5 separate regions of the Homo sapiens genome follow, and regions 1, 2, 3 and 5 are each linked to region 4. Evidence: promoter capture Hi-C in 16 types of primary human blood cells and fetal thymus (Javierre and others, 2016). All regions are on one chromosome and are shown on one strand. Each heading gives the region's core, a stretch centred on a gene start or on the middle of the fragment in contact. The rest is flanking DNA. Distances are from core to core; before and after follow the strand shown. Region 1 overlaps RALGPS2 (Ral GEF with PH domain and SH3 binding motif 2). Region 2 overlaps RALGPS2 (Ral GEF with PH domain and SH3 binding motif 2). Region 3 overlaps RALGPS2 (Ral GEF with PH domain and SH3 binding motif 2). Region 4 holds the start of C1orf220 (chromosome 1 putative open reading frame 220). Region 5 overlaps RALGPS2 (Ral GEF with PH domain and SH3 binding motif 2).

Evidence for each region. Contacts are between HindIII fragments. The CHiCAGO score rates a contact against its expected background, and 5 or more counts as called.
Region 1: a fragment that was not itself captured here is called in contact with the fragment with the promoter of C1orf220 in region 4 in 2 of 17 cell types (total B cells and naive B cells); the score reaches 26.1 in total B cells.
Region 2: a contact is called between a fragment that was not itself captured here and the fragment with the promoter of C1orf220 in region 4, in 2 of 17 cell types (naive B cells and total B cells). The highest score is 13.9, in naive B cells.
Region 3: a fragment that was not itself captured here is called in contact with the fragment with the promoter of C1orf220 in region 4 in 3 of 17 cell types (total B cells, naive B cells and monocytes); the score reaches 30.8 in total B cells.
Region 5: a contact is called between a fragment that was not itself captured here and the fragment with the promoter of C1orf220 in region 4, in 2 of 17 cell types (total B cells and naive B cells). The highest score is 14.5, in total B cells.

Annotation. Positions count from the first base shown.
Region 1 is chr1:178,822,593-178,825,292 of GRCh38, forward strand. The region is part of intron 7 of RALGPS2 (Ral GEF with PH domain and SH3 binding motif 2); the gene reads left to right. Among named protein-coding and RNA genes, the nearest start is that of ANGPTL1, 47 kb to the right of the region's middle. The HindIII fragment of the contact is 2,559 bases long and covers 38-2,596 here.
Region 2 is chr1:178,841,395-178,844,094 of GRCh38, forward strand. All of the region lies in intron 8 of RALGPS2 (Ral GEF with PH domain and SH3 binding motif 2), which reads left to right. Among named protein-coding and RNA genes, the nearest start is that of ANGPTL1, 28 kb to the right of the region's middle. The HindIII fragment of the contact is 3,073 bases long and covers 1-2,700 here.
Region 3 is chr1:178,801,499-178,804,198 of GRCh38, forward strand. All of the region lies in intron 4 of RALGPS2 (Ral GEF with PH domain and SH3 binding motif 2), which reads left to right. It overlaps LOC124904462 (a long non-coding RNA gene), which reads right to left. Exons shown (of 3, transcript XR_007066749.1): 2 at 1,574-1,683. Among named protein-coding and RNA genes, the nearest start is that of ANGPTL1, 68 kb to the right of the region's middle. The HindIII fragment of the contact is 1,813 bases long and covers 409-2,221 here.
Region 4 is chr1:178,541,477-178,544,176 of GRCh38, forward strand. It overlaps C1orf220 (chromosome 1 putative open reading frame 220), which reads left to right and starts at 1,320. Exons shown (of 3, transcript NR_033186.1): 1 at 1,320-1,409. It overlaps LOC124904460 (a long non-coding RNA gene), which reads right to left and starts at 1,169. Exons shown (of 2, transcript XR_007066748.1): 1 at 558-1,169; 2 at 1-350. RefSeq lists an enhancer at 1,015-1,074 and silencers at 1,125-1,454, 1,485-1,554. The HindIII fragment of the contact is 17,585 bases long and covers 1-2,700 here.
Region 5 is chr1:178,857,585-178,860,284 of GRCh38, forward strand. All of the region lies in intron 8 of RALGPS2 (Ral GEF with PH domain and SH3 binding motif 2), which reads left to right. The region is part of intron 3 of ANGPTL1 (angiopoietin like 1); the gene reads right to left. Among named protein-coding and RNA genes, the nearest start is that of ANGPTL1, 12 kb to the right of the region's middle. The HindIII fragment of the contact is 1,184 bases long and covers 810-1,993 here.

The sequences.
Region 1 (2,700 bases), core at 67-2,566, 280 kb after region 4:
TGTAGATTTCTATATTGGAAAAACATTAGTATGGAAAAGCTTGTGATCCTTTTTATGTTTCTCTTTTCTATTTTATAGAAAAACCTTGGTGTGAAGGGTTTTCTTTAAAAATTCTTTTTAATAATTATGGCCTTATTGTCTTTTCTTAAAATTTGAATTTCATGGAGGAATGGAAATGATTATAAATATACAGTTATGAATTATATCTTTAAAGTTTTAGGGAAAAGAATTATACGCTGTGAAAAAAAAATTCTATTTTTATTTTTTGCATCCAGGCTGGAGTGTAGCACGATCATAGCTTACTGCAGCCCCCAACTCCTGGGCTCAGAGGATCCTCCAGCCTCAGCCTCCCAAGTAACTGGACTACAGGCACATGCCACCATGCCCAACTAATTTTTTAAAAAGTTTTTATAGTGATGGGGTCTCACTGTGTTGTCCAGGCTGTTTTCGAACGCCTGATCTCAAGTGATCCTCCCGCCTTAGCCTCTCAAAGTGCTGGGATTACAGGCATGAGCCATTACGCCCAGTCCTATACTTTTATTTATGATTTGGTTTAGTAATGAGGTAGATTTTGCTGAAGTTAATTTTTATTTTCCTTGAAGATATTTTCATTGCCTCCCTTATGTATTTTTGTGGAAAATAATAATTTTTATTTGGTAACAGCTTCATTATTTATCTGAATAAAACTTTTGATGGTTTGTATTTTAAAATATTTCATACTGTGCTATGCACTCTGTAATTGCTTGACATTTAATAGTGAATGATCTAGACAAAGTTCCATTTTCATACAGCTAACATTCTGCTGGGGAAGAATAAATTACAAATAAATAAATGACATAAATAGCAATAAATGCTCTGAAGAAAAGTAGAAAGGAAGGCAGGACAGTACTGTGTTATGTAACATGGTAAGAGAATTGTTGATAAATGACAGTTCAGTAGAGACCTGGAGGAATTGAGGGAACCATTTATTTGGATATCTGGGAGAAGAGAATTCCAAGTAGAGGTAATAACAAGTAAAAAGGCCCAGATACATTCAAATGGCAGAGTGGTTAGTGTTGACAGTAGAATAAGCTAGGAAGGTACCCGGTGGTAGGAGATGATTTCAAAGAGGTGGCATGAATCAGATAATGGAGGTGCTGTTTACTTATATTCAGAGAGGTATAGAGAAGGACCATTGTGGGCTGGGGTTCTATTTTACACATACTGTGTTTGAGTTGGCTAGTAAACATCCATGTGAAATGTAAGGTCAGACTTAGATGTACAAGTTTAAGGGAGTGGTTGGGGCTAGAGAGAGATTGTTATAATCATCAATGTAAACTATTTGAAGCTAGATGGGATTACCTAAGGAGGGAGCATAGATGAAAAGCCCTGGGAACCTCCAGGATTCCCAAGTAGAGATTGGAAAAATGAGGAGAAATCAACAAAGGAAATTACGGGTAGGACACATTTTTCACAGTCAGGTAAAGAAAATGTTTCAATAAAAATTGATCACCTTTGTCAAATGCTACTAATAATTTGAATAAGGTGCAAAGTTTGAGATGACCTGACAATTGGAAAGGATTGGTGACCTCGGGAAGAGTGATTTCAGTAGAGAATGGGGTGAAAAACTGACTGGAGTTGAGAGAATGGTGATGAAGAAGTGGGACAGCAAGTATAGAGAATGCTTTTGAGGAATTTTACTGTAAAGGGCTGCAGTGTGGTTTGCAGAGAAATATGGTACCTGGAAGGGAATGTGGGACCAAAGATTTGTTGTATTTTGTTTTGTTTTTGGAAATGGCATCAATGGCAATATGTTTTATGTTGGTGGCAATAATCTAGTAGAACTAAAAAAATGACAAGAGAATGAGGAATTATACCAGTGATATGCTTGATGAGATGAAAGAGAATTAGATTTAGTACCCTAGTGTATCAGTAAGAGTTTATCCATTTTACGCCGGGTGCAGTGGTGGCTCATGCCTGTAACTCCAGCACTTTGGGAGGCCAAGTCGGGCGGATCACAAGGTCAGGAGATCCAGACCATCCTGGCTAAAACGGTGAAACCCCGTCTCTACTAAAAATACAAAAAAATTAGTCAGACGTGGTGATGGGCGCCTGTAGTCCCAGCTACTCTGGAGGCTGAGGCAGGAGAATGGCGTGAACCCAGGAGGCGGAGCTTGCAGTGAGCCGAGATCGCGCTACTGCACTCCAGCCTGTGCGACAGAGCAAGACTCTGTCTCAAAAAAAAAGAAAAAAAAAGAAAAGATAGTTTATCCATTTTAACAGCAGGGAAGGGAACACATTTAGTTACAGATGCAGGTAAGTTGGTAGATTTCGTGGTGGGATTCTTAGAAGTTCTGATTGTTTTGTTTCCTCAGACATAAAAAAGCAAGGTCTTTAGTTAAGGTGGTATGGGAGAGGTGTTGGAGATTTGAAGAAAGAAGAGAGGATATAAAAGTCATCTGGAGAGTGTGAGAGTGTGTTAACTAAGAAAACGTAATAGGTTTGATAGACCTTATGTAGGATCCATCTACTTAAGACTTTTTTTTAATCATGAATTTAAAGTAAAACCAGTCAGCAGAGTTATGTATTCTCCAGCCAGGTTCAGATATTCAGCATAAGCTTTCAATAGTGCCAAGAGTTGTATTTAACCAGAGATGGGATTTTTCGAGGCTTTTGTACCAGAAGGGTTAAGGGTAGCACAAGAGGTGAAAGACGGAAAAT
Region 2 (2,700 bases), core at 182-2,681, 300 kb after region 4:
AAAACCACATGATTATCTCAATAGATGCAGAAAAAGCCTTTGACAAAATTCAACAACCCTTCATGCTAAAAACTCCCAATAAATTAGGTATTGATGGGACGTATTTCAAAATAATAAGAGCTATCTATGACAAACCCACAGCCAATATCATACTGAATGGGCAAAAACTGGAAGCATTCCCTTTGAAAACTGGCACAAGACAGGGATGCCCTCTCTCACCACTCCTATTCAACATAGTGTTGGAAGTTCTGGCCAGGGCAATTAGACAGGAGAAGGAAATAAAGGGTATTCAATTAGGAAAAGAGGAAGTCAAATTGTCCCTGTTTGCAGACGACATGATTGTATATCTAGAAAACCCCATTGTCTCAGCCCAAAATCTCCTTAAGCTGATAAGCAACTTCAGCAAAGTCTCAGGATACAAAATCAATGTACAAAAATCACAAGCATTCTTATACACCAACAACAGACAAACAGAGAGCCAAATCATGAGTGAACTCCCATTCACAATTGCTTCAAAGAGAATAAAATACCTAGGAATCCAACTTACAAGGGATGTGAAGCACCTCTTCAAGGAGAACTACAAACCACTGCTCAAGGAAATAAAAGAGGATACAAACAAATGGAAGAACATTCCATGCTCATGGGTAGGAAGAATCAATATCGTGAAAATGGCCATACTGCCCAAGGTAATTTACAGATTCAATGCCATCCCCATCAAGCTACCAATGACTTTCTTCACAGAATTGGAAAAAACTACTTTAAAGTTCATATGGAACCAAAAAAGAGCCCGCATTGCCAAGTCAATCCTAAGCCAAAAGAACAAAGCTGGAGGAATCACACTACCTGACTTCAAACTATACTACAAGGCTACAGTAACCAAAACAGCATGGTACTGGTACCAAAACAGAGATATAGATCAATGGAACAGAACAGAGCCCTCAGAAATAACGCCGCATACCTACAGCTATCTGATCTTTGACAAACCTGAGAAAAACAAGCAATGGGGAAAGGATTCCCTATTTAATAAATGGTGCTGGGAAAACTGGCTAGCCATATGTAGGAAGCTGAAACTGGATCCCTTCCTTACACCTTATACAAAAATCAATTCAAGATGGATTAAAGATTTAAACGTTAGACCTAAAACCATAAAAACCCTAGAAGAAAACCTAGGCATCACCATTCAGGACATAGGCATGGGCAAGGACTTCATGTCCAAAACACCAAAAGCAATGGCAACAAAAGACAAAATTGACAAATGGGATCTAATTAAACTAAAGAGCTTCTGCACAGCAAAAGAAACTACCATCAGAGTGAACAGGCAACCTACAAAATGGGAGAAAATTTTTGCAACCTACTCATCTGACAAAGGGCTAATATCCAGAATCTACAGTGAACTCAAACAAATTTACAAGAAAAAAACAAACAACCCCATCAAAAAGTGGGCGAAGGACATGAACAGACACTTCTCAAAAGAAGACATTTATGCAGCCAAAAAACACATGAAAAAATGCTCACCATCACTGGCCATCAGAGAAATGCAAATCAAAACCACTATGAGATACCATCTCACACCAGTTAGAATGGCAATCATTAAAAAGTCAGGAAACGACAGGTGCTGGAGAGGATGTGGAGAAATAGGAACAGTTTTACACTGTTGGTGGGACTGTAAACTAGTTCAACCATTGTGGAAGTCAGTGTGGCGATTCCTCAGGGATCTAGAACTAGAATTACCATTTGACCCAGCCATCCCATTACTGGGTATATACCCAAATGACTATAAATCATGCTGCTATAAAGACACATGCACACGTATGTTTATTGCGGCATTATTCACAATAGCAAAGACTTGGAACCAACCCAAATGTCCAACAATGATAGACTGGATTAAGAAAATGTGGCACATATACACCATGGAATACTATGCAGCCATAAAAAATGATGAGTTCATGTCCTTTGTAGGGACATGGATGAAATTGGAAATCATCATTCTCAGTAAACTATCGCAAGATCAAAAAACCAAACACCACATATTCTCACTCATAGGTGGGAACTGAACAATGAGATCACATGGACACAGGAAGGGGAATATCACACTCTGGGGACTGTGGTGGGGTGGGGGGAGGGGGGAGGGATAGCATTGGGAGATATACCTAATGCTAGATGACGAGTTAGTGGGTGCAGTGCACCAACATGGCGCATGTATACATATGTAACAAACCTGCACATTGTGTACATGTACCCTAAAACTTAAAGTATAATTAAAAAAAAAAAAAGAAAGAAAGAAACCAAAAAGGGAAAAAAAAACAGAAGGAAATTAAGAACATACACTATAGCATCTGCATAATTTTAGATACTGGTATTCTTCATATAGTTCATCCCTATCTGGGTATGTGAAGAAGCATCTTGATTGTGAGATTATTGTGGACTCCTGGGCATAAATATTTGGTAGACATGGGAAAGGAAAATGAAACATTTGTCAGATGAGTTTTTATGACTCAGTTTAGTTCGTTTCCAGTATGAAAATCATCCTTTTAATGTAATGACTGCTTTGCCTTATAGCAAACCGTTAGATTAAATGTATTTAATCTATTAAAACATACATGGTTTTGATTCAGAATCCTTTTCTATTCATGTGAAGGGAGGCTTAGTACAGTTGACAAAAACTTCAGCATTTATAAATGCTGTACATTTGATAGAAGT
Region 3 (2,700 bases), core at 65-2,564, 260 kb after region 4:
AAGTATGGTGGATTGTGGCTTCATTTTTACATTAAAAAAATTTTTTAATACTTTTCTGACTCCTCAAATAAATGCCAAGAGGTTTTGGAAAGTCCGTCCAATTCTTAGAACATTTCTGCATCATTAATTTAATGGAAAAAATGCTTTGTCACTTGAGGAAAACTGTTGGAAGGTGACTGAAAGGAAATCATGAAAGAGATTGTGGATATGGCAAAAAAGGTAGGGAGCTAAGAGTTTCGAGATATGGATCTTGGAGAAATTCAAGAGCTAATAAACACCACACCAGAGGAATTAACAAAAGGTGACTTGATGGGTAGAAGGGAGGGAGGGAGGGAGGGAGAGGTGTGTAGTCACATTCTTTGGAAGCAGCTGGGTTAAAATTCCGTTTGAAGCCCTCCATTCTAAAGAAGCTTATAATTAGAAAACAAGAGAAAATGTTTTTGAACCTCATAAGATGGTAGTTTCTGTATCAGAAAACATTTCCCCCATGAAACAGTGTTACATCACTAGCCTATCTCATACAACAATAATCAGAACTACACTTTACCCTTGAATGTCTCTGGAGTTAGAAACACCAGGCTCCCAGAAGTCGAAAATTTGCAGGTAAAACTCAACTACTCATAGCCTACCATTGACTGGAAGCCTTATTGATAACATAAACAGTCGATTAACACATAGTTTGTATGTTATATATATTATATAATATATTCTTAAAGTAAGCTAGAAAAAAGAAAATGTTATTAGGAAAAATACATTTACAGTACTGTATTGTACATCATAAGTTTACATAGTCTGTTTATAAGATATATTGACTGAAATGGCAGCAGGACCTCAGTCTATGGTACATATCAAGCAATGCAACTTGTTCTTGAAATGTCATGACTTTTCTTTGCTTCTTAGGAGCACTTCCAGCATCTCTAGTGGTGCTTCTTATGGGTCCCATGGTGTTATTCAAGGTTTAGGATATTGCACTAAACACGATGAAAAATAACGTGAGAACCGTGAGAAATCACATTTTACTGTGATAATACAATTTACTGGAGATAGGAACTGCTCATGTGGAGATAAGTAGTGTCATCACAGGGTGTTTTAAGGGAATACTCTCTACACTTAAACTCACTGTAAGAGCAACACGAGGTGGGTACAAAATTATTATAGTAGAACAGTATGTACTATGGTTAATTTTATGCAGTTATGATTTAATATTGCACCTTTATGTTTGTTACATTTCTCTGGACTGCATATGGCAGCATGTAAGGTCTGTTGGTGTGCATAAATTTTGATAAATGTTAACTTTTTTAAATACATTTGTGTGTATTTTATGGTAGTAAATGATAAAATAGACTAGTATTTTATACATTCACGCCATCCCTAGCTTTTTCTTAATTTTTCGATACTCCAAGCCATGTGGTTTGTCTGCAAGTTTTTTCAAATTGTTGCAAATCTTCAAGACAAAATTTCCAAAATATTTTTTGAAAAAAATCTGTGTATGAGTGGACCCACACAGTTCAAACCCATGTTGTTCAAGGGTCAACTATGTACCTCATTTTGATAAGAGTGTTGTGAAACTTACATTCATTTCTCGTGGGAGTGTAAATGATTCAGTATTTCAGGAGGGCAGTTTGACAGGTAGCAGAGCCTTGAAAAGGTTCATACTCTTTGACCTCGTGATTTCTTGTAGGACTATATTTTTAAGAAATAATCAGAAATGTCAGAAGAGGTGCAAGGATATTCATTATTTGTAATTATAGCATTACTTAACAATAGGAAAATGAAATCAGCCTTTTGTGTAAAGGTCTATAATGGAGTTTGACTTCTTTGTCAAATGGCTACTTTGAGTGGTTTGATAAGTTTAATTTGATAGACACTTTGATTATAGCATTAATATAAGTTTTGTAATTATAGTAATTGGCTAAAAACGAATTCAGTTACTTAGGGATTTAATCTTAGGAATTTTATCCTAAAATATGACATCTTTATGTAGTTGTGTATGTATGCTGTGATTTTGGAAAGAACAAAAATGTTTCTAGCAGTTTGATGTTTTCAGTATCATTGTCATAATATTTTTGTGTGAATATAATTTTTACTACTAAATGTTTTCTTTTTTTACAGGGAGATAATATAAAATGATCATATAGCTAGGCTAATTGAATATCCAGAAATTTTTATTTTTGCTATAGAATTGCTTTTTATCATTTCATTATTTCTTTCAGAAATTTCAAGCTTGAAAGATATGATCTAATTTTAGATTTAAAAAGGCAGTTTTTATCTCCACAGCATTCACTCCTTATCTACTGTGTAGAAATAATTGTCATCTCTCCCCTCAGTATTCCCTATCTCAGTTGCTCAAAGCAGAAACCTGGAATCTTAGTACTTCTGCAGACTTCGTTTTTAGCTTACATCACATGAGTCCAATTCTTGATGAAGTCCTGTCTGCCTCCAGAGTATCTTGAGTCTATCGTATCCATATCCACTGACAGTGCCCTGGTTGAGGGAACATTACTTTTTTCTTGAAGGACTATAGTATCATCTTAACTGTTTCCTCAATCTTCCCCTGACTCAATCTATTCCTTTTTTTTTTTTTGGTTTCTAATTTAATTTAAGATTTTATTGAAGTTTTGCATGTATCATGTTTAAGAAGTCAAATATTTGCATAAGAGAACAAAATATAGCAAAATCCTAACTCAGTTATTCGCATCT
Region 4 (2,700 bases), core at 70-2,569:
GATCTTACAAAACCGTAGGTCAGGTCATTGCCCCCTGTCAGACTCAAGCCCATCACAGCCCTTGCTATGCTGACAGGCCCATCCCACCCCAGCCCGCTCCCCCCACCACCTGCCCCCCTCCGCCACCTCACCTGTGCCTTCTGCACGCCTCTCCCACCACTCCCCCTCCCTCCCTTTACTCTGGCCACTCTGAATGTCACTGGTCCTCCTTGAGCCCTCCTGAGCCCTCTGCCCAGAGTAATGCCAGAGTGGAGGCCACAGCTGAAGGCAGAGGCTGTTGGCCTGGGGTGGAGAGGGGAGATTCCTCTGGGTGGAAGGTGACATTGGGCAGCCTTGGATGAAGTGAATACCTGGTGTGGGGAAGCAAAAATAAATAGAGAAACAAACGGATTAATTTTGCTTCTTTCCAGGGACTTGATTTTCTACAAGTGCTGCTCCAAGAGGCTTCTACACCCCCGCAGGGAGGCAAGCACCGTTTTGAGGTGGCCGGGCTGGCGAGGAGGTGCAGACCCCAGCCAGCTGGAGGGGCTCTGCCCTGATGGCGTTCCCACTCCCACCTCATTCGCAGGGCGCCGGGGAGGGCTGCAGGTGTTCTATTCCCACCCGGCTTGCAGCGCAAGGAGGGGAATCGCCTGACACCTTCCCCTTCTCCTCTGCCCCGCTTCCTTTCTCTGCTCCCACAGGTGGAAGTCACCAGCGGAAACAACCCTTCACTGTATGGAGGGCTGGGAGAGAGGGGCCAAGAGGGCCCCGGGAGAGCCACTGGGCGGCAGGCAAGGGGCGGGGCAGTCTCCCTTCCGGCTTCCGGGACCGAAGGGTGAAGGGCAAGGGGAGCTCAGGGAATGAACGAGTGCTCCCGACTAATGTTTAACCCACGACTCCGAGACTCCGACTGGTCACAGTCCTGCAGACCTCCAGGTCCTGCACAGGCGACGCAGCGCTCCACTGGCCCGGAATGCGCACCCCGGGGGAAATGGAAAGTGCCATTGAAATGTCAGATGTCACCGTCTTCATCAGCACTCTTGGAATTTTGGCCAAAGTGGCTTCTTCTTTTGCTGAGACTTGACTCACTCCCGGCAGAGGGATGATAGCGGCCTTGCCCCGAGCGTTTATCCGGCTGCAGGCGTCATTCTTGGTCGCCTGTGTGTCCAGAGCCCCAGCGCAGGAAGGGAGCGCAATTCCCACCGCGCCCGCTGGGTGGCGCTAGCGCCGCACCGTGTCCCGGGATGAGGGGAAACCGCGCTGCCCAGTCAGTACCCCGACGCCCCCGCGCCCCCGCCGGGCCCCGCGCGCTGCAGCCACCGCCTCTTCTCGGCTTCCTCTTGCTTTACAGTAACTCTCCTCCTGGGGAAAAGGCTTTTCACGGAGCAGGCTCGGAGCCTACGGGGCTGGCCTCGGACTGGATGGGGGTAAGGACGGGTGGCGGCGCTCGCGCCGAGCGAACGGAGGGCTCAGGCGGCCGGTGATCAGGGACGGGCTGCGGCCGCCGTCTGGGGTGAGAGGCCCACCCAGAGCTCTGGGCCAGGGCTCGCGGCTCTCGTGCAGATGCTGGGCCGGGAGGTGTGGGGAGGGGGCTTCCCAGGCGGGGCAACCGGAGGGGAATGGGGTGTGCAGGAGGGAGGGGAGGCGTGGAGCGCCCGGCCTGCAGGCACTGGGCGGCGCTCTCCAGCCTCCTCTTCTCCCGCCGGGTGCCTGGTGGCTTGGCCTCCCCTCCAGAGCTTCGCATATCCTGGCGGGAGCCGGCGCTCTCTCTCCATACTTAGGACTTGACCCTTATTCCACACCCGGGCAGGGAATCATTTGCCCAATCCGAATTTGATTTTCTGCTTGTGAGAGGAGAAACTGGTGACAGTGTCGCATGGACACTGTCGGGGAAGCCGAGACGTAGACCTGGAAGCCTGTACCAGAGGCCTTGTGGACAGCTTTGGAGCATGCATCTTAAGGCACACCACCGGTTTCTGCTGCTTTGGCACAGCCACGCAGCACCTAGGATGCTTCTCTGCACGCAGCAGAGGCCTAATCCGTGCACCCTCTGACGGTGTTGGAGGGAGCTGGGGAGCAACATCAGATTAATAGCCCCTGGGCTATTTGTATGACGTGCAGATTTCACCCTCTCATTCTTAAAGGGTGAAAGGCTGCAATTCAGAAAGGCGAAGATGGGGCCCAGGAATCTGCAATCTGCGTGGGGTTTTTTTTTTTTTTATGAAGTCTTGTTCTGTCGCTCAGGTTGGGGTGCAGTGGCGCGATCTGTGCTCACCGCAACCTGTCTTCCAGGTTCAAGCGATTATCCTGCCTCAGCCTTCTGAGTAGCTGGGACTACAGGTGCATGACACCACACCTGGCTAATTTTTGTATTTTTAGTAGAGATGGGGTTTCACCATGTTCGCCAGGCTGGTCTTGAACTCCTGACCTCAAGTGATACGCCCACCTTGGCCTCCCAACGTGCTGGGATTACAGGCATGAGCCACCGCGCCTGGCCAGAGTTTGCATTTTGTTGTTGTCGTTTGTTTGTTTGAGACGGAGTCTCGCTCTGTGGCCCAGGCTGGAGTGCAGTGGCGCCATCTCGACTCACTGCAACCTCTGCTTCCCAGGTTCAAGCGATTCTCCTGCCTCAATCTCCCAAGTAGCGGGGATTAACAGGCGTGCCACCACCATGCCTGGCTAAATTTTTTATTCTTAGTAGAGACAGGGTTTCTCACG
Region 5 (2,700 bases), core at 152-2,651, 320 kb after region 4:
ATTATAGTTAATGCACACATGAAAGTAGTTTTGTTACAACATATATATATTTATCTCATTTTATAAATTTGCATATTCTGTAAATGTTATGCTTATTGCTTATTCTATGAATATCATTTTCGTAAATGTTTACTCTGCATTCATTTGAGTATAGTTTTGACAGTTTACATTTAAGTATATATTCAAAGGTTGGACTTTTATTAGGTTATTTGCTTTGCTGCAGAATATTTAGAAACATCAGTGTTCTGAATGTTGACAGAATATTTGTCAAGTATCATTTGTTCCATAGAGCTATACTCATTTTTTGCTATTTAATAGACACTCAGATGTTTAAAGCAAAATAGAGAGTTCTGGTTTTCTGAATCCAGCTTTGATTTCATAAGACTTCAATTATGCAAATTTAAGATTATCTTCAGCTTTAATTTTCAACCCATGTTTTGCAGTGGGCTTTGTGTTTACAGTTGGATATCTGTTAGACTTAGGGAAATGTAGTTGAAGTTCTTTTCCAGAACATATGGATAAAATTTAGCAGTGCCTAAAGCTATTTTTTTCTCCTCAGTAAAGATATTAGATATCAGAATTCAATATTTATTTGTATTTATTTTTATAAACATACCATTAACCTGTCTTAGTCCAGTGTATATTGTTGATCCTAGCAGAAATATTTTCTCATTATTACTTGAAAATCTTATTTACTTTCTGCCCTAAAATTAGATTCTCTATTGTCCCTATCTTAAATGTTTTCACTGCTTTTTCTGTACCATAAAGAACATTGCTTGAAAGAAATTAATGACAAATAGAAAATTTTAAGCTTTATTCTTGAGAAGCCAGATTTAATTCACAGGTTTGCATATTTTCAGAAATAAATTGATTGATCTGTGAATCAGGAATTTGTTCATGATGATTCAAAAGGTATAAACTGGAATTACCTTTCTTTTAAACTAAGCATAGTATCAACTATTTTTTGCAAGAGTCTTCTCAAAGCAGGCAACTGGAATTCTGTACATTGAATTTGAAGAACCAGTCTCTCTGTTCCTCAATTTATGTGAGGATTAAAGTTTACATAGGGCTAATGAAACCATATTAATACCTCTGATTTATAGAAAGAAAAATGTTGACCAGTCATGCCACATTATTTCCCAAGGTGTATTTATTAAGAACCCATATTTTGAATAGAACAGTGAGTTAAAAAAGAAAAAAGGATTTCACACTTTGAATAGCAGCTTTACTGGGAGCCATCTGTAACATATGTGTTCTTTTTCTGTAAAAAGAGCTTTTACAAAGAGAATTACAGATTACAAAGAGAATCCTTTTTATGACAGGAGAAACAGTAAACCAATTCAGAGCTTTCAAATTATTGGTTACCAAGTAGGATCTTTTGAGAGGTAAACTTTTCAGTTGGGTTGTGCATTAACTTTCAGTTAAATATATTCAACATTTCTGGAGTGGGAAGTTTGAGACAAATACTTTCTGAAGTGACAGTAGGGTCTTTCTGTAATAATATGAATTACTTAGTTTATTAATCTGTATGTTTAAACTGTATTTAGCAACCCAAACTTTTAATTATTAAAGAATTTATCAATTACGTTCTCATAACTGGCTAATACAGTCATTTTCCAACAGCACCTTGGCTTAACTAGTTTTTTTGTTTTGTATTAAATGTTAGTATAAGTATTCCATTGAAACCAATTATACCTAAAAAGTATATTAAGAAGCATTATAAATAATTTGAAAAATGTAAATATTTGGTGATTTAAAATAAGCCTACCACTAAAAAGCATATTTTTAGTTTCTAATGACTACTTTCCAAGTTTAACTTTTTTTTTTTTTTTTTTTTTGAGACGGAGTCTCGCTCTGTCGCCAGGCTGGAGTGCAGTGTCACGATCTCGGCTCACTGCAACCTCCGCCTCCCGAGTTCAAGCAATTTTCCTGCCTCAGCCTCCCAAGTAGCTGGGATTACAGGCGCCCGCCACTACGAAGTTTTAACTTTTTAAGCTTACCATTTATGTCCTCATATACCTAATATGACAAGGAAAGACACATAAAGGGAAGTGTACAAAATATGCAATGATTAATGGTGGTCAAACCATGCCACATCATACACGAAGCACTTTTTTTTTTTTTTTTTTTTTGAGACGGAGTCTCGCTCTGTCGCCAGGCTGGAGTGCAGTGTCGCGATCTCGGCTCACTGCAAGCTCTGCCTCCCGGGTTCATGCCATTCTCCTGCCTCTGCCCGCCCCCCCCCCCCCAACCGCCCAAGTAGCTGGGACTACAGGCGCCCGCCACCACGCCTGGCTAATTTTTTTGTATTTTTGGTAGAGACGGGGTTTCGCCATGTTAGCCAGGATGGTCTCGATCTCCTGACCTCGTGATCCACCCGTCTCGGCTACACAAAGCACTTCTACCTGTACCCCCTCATTTAATCATCACAACAATTTATTTTACAAAAGAGGCAACTGGACCCCAGAAAGCTTTGCCAGAATCCAAGTTTACTGATACTCAGATCTATGCTTTTACACATGGTGAAGGAACTTTCTCCACTCAGCTCTCCTACAAGGAATAAACTTGTTTTTATAAATACGCTATTTGTAAAAGAGTAATTTTTTTTAATAAAAGACTAACCCAAAATGCAGGCACCAAATAACATTAATAGTTAAGAATTTCATTGATTGCAGCTTGTCAGGTGTATTATTACATTCT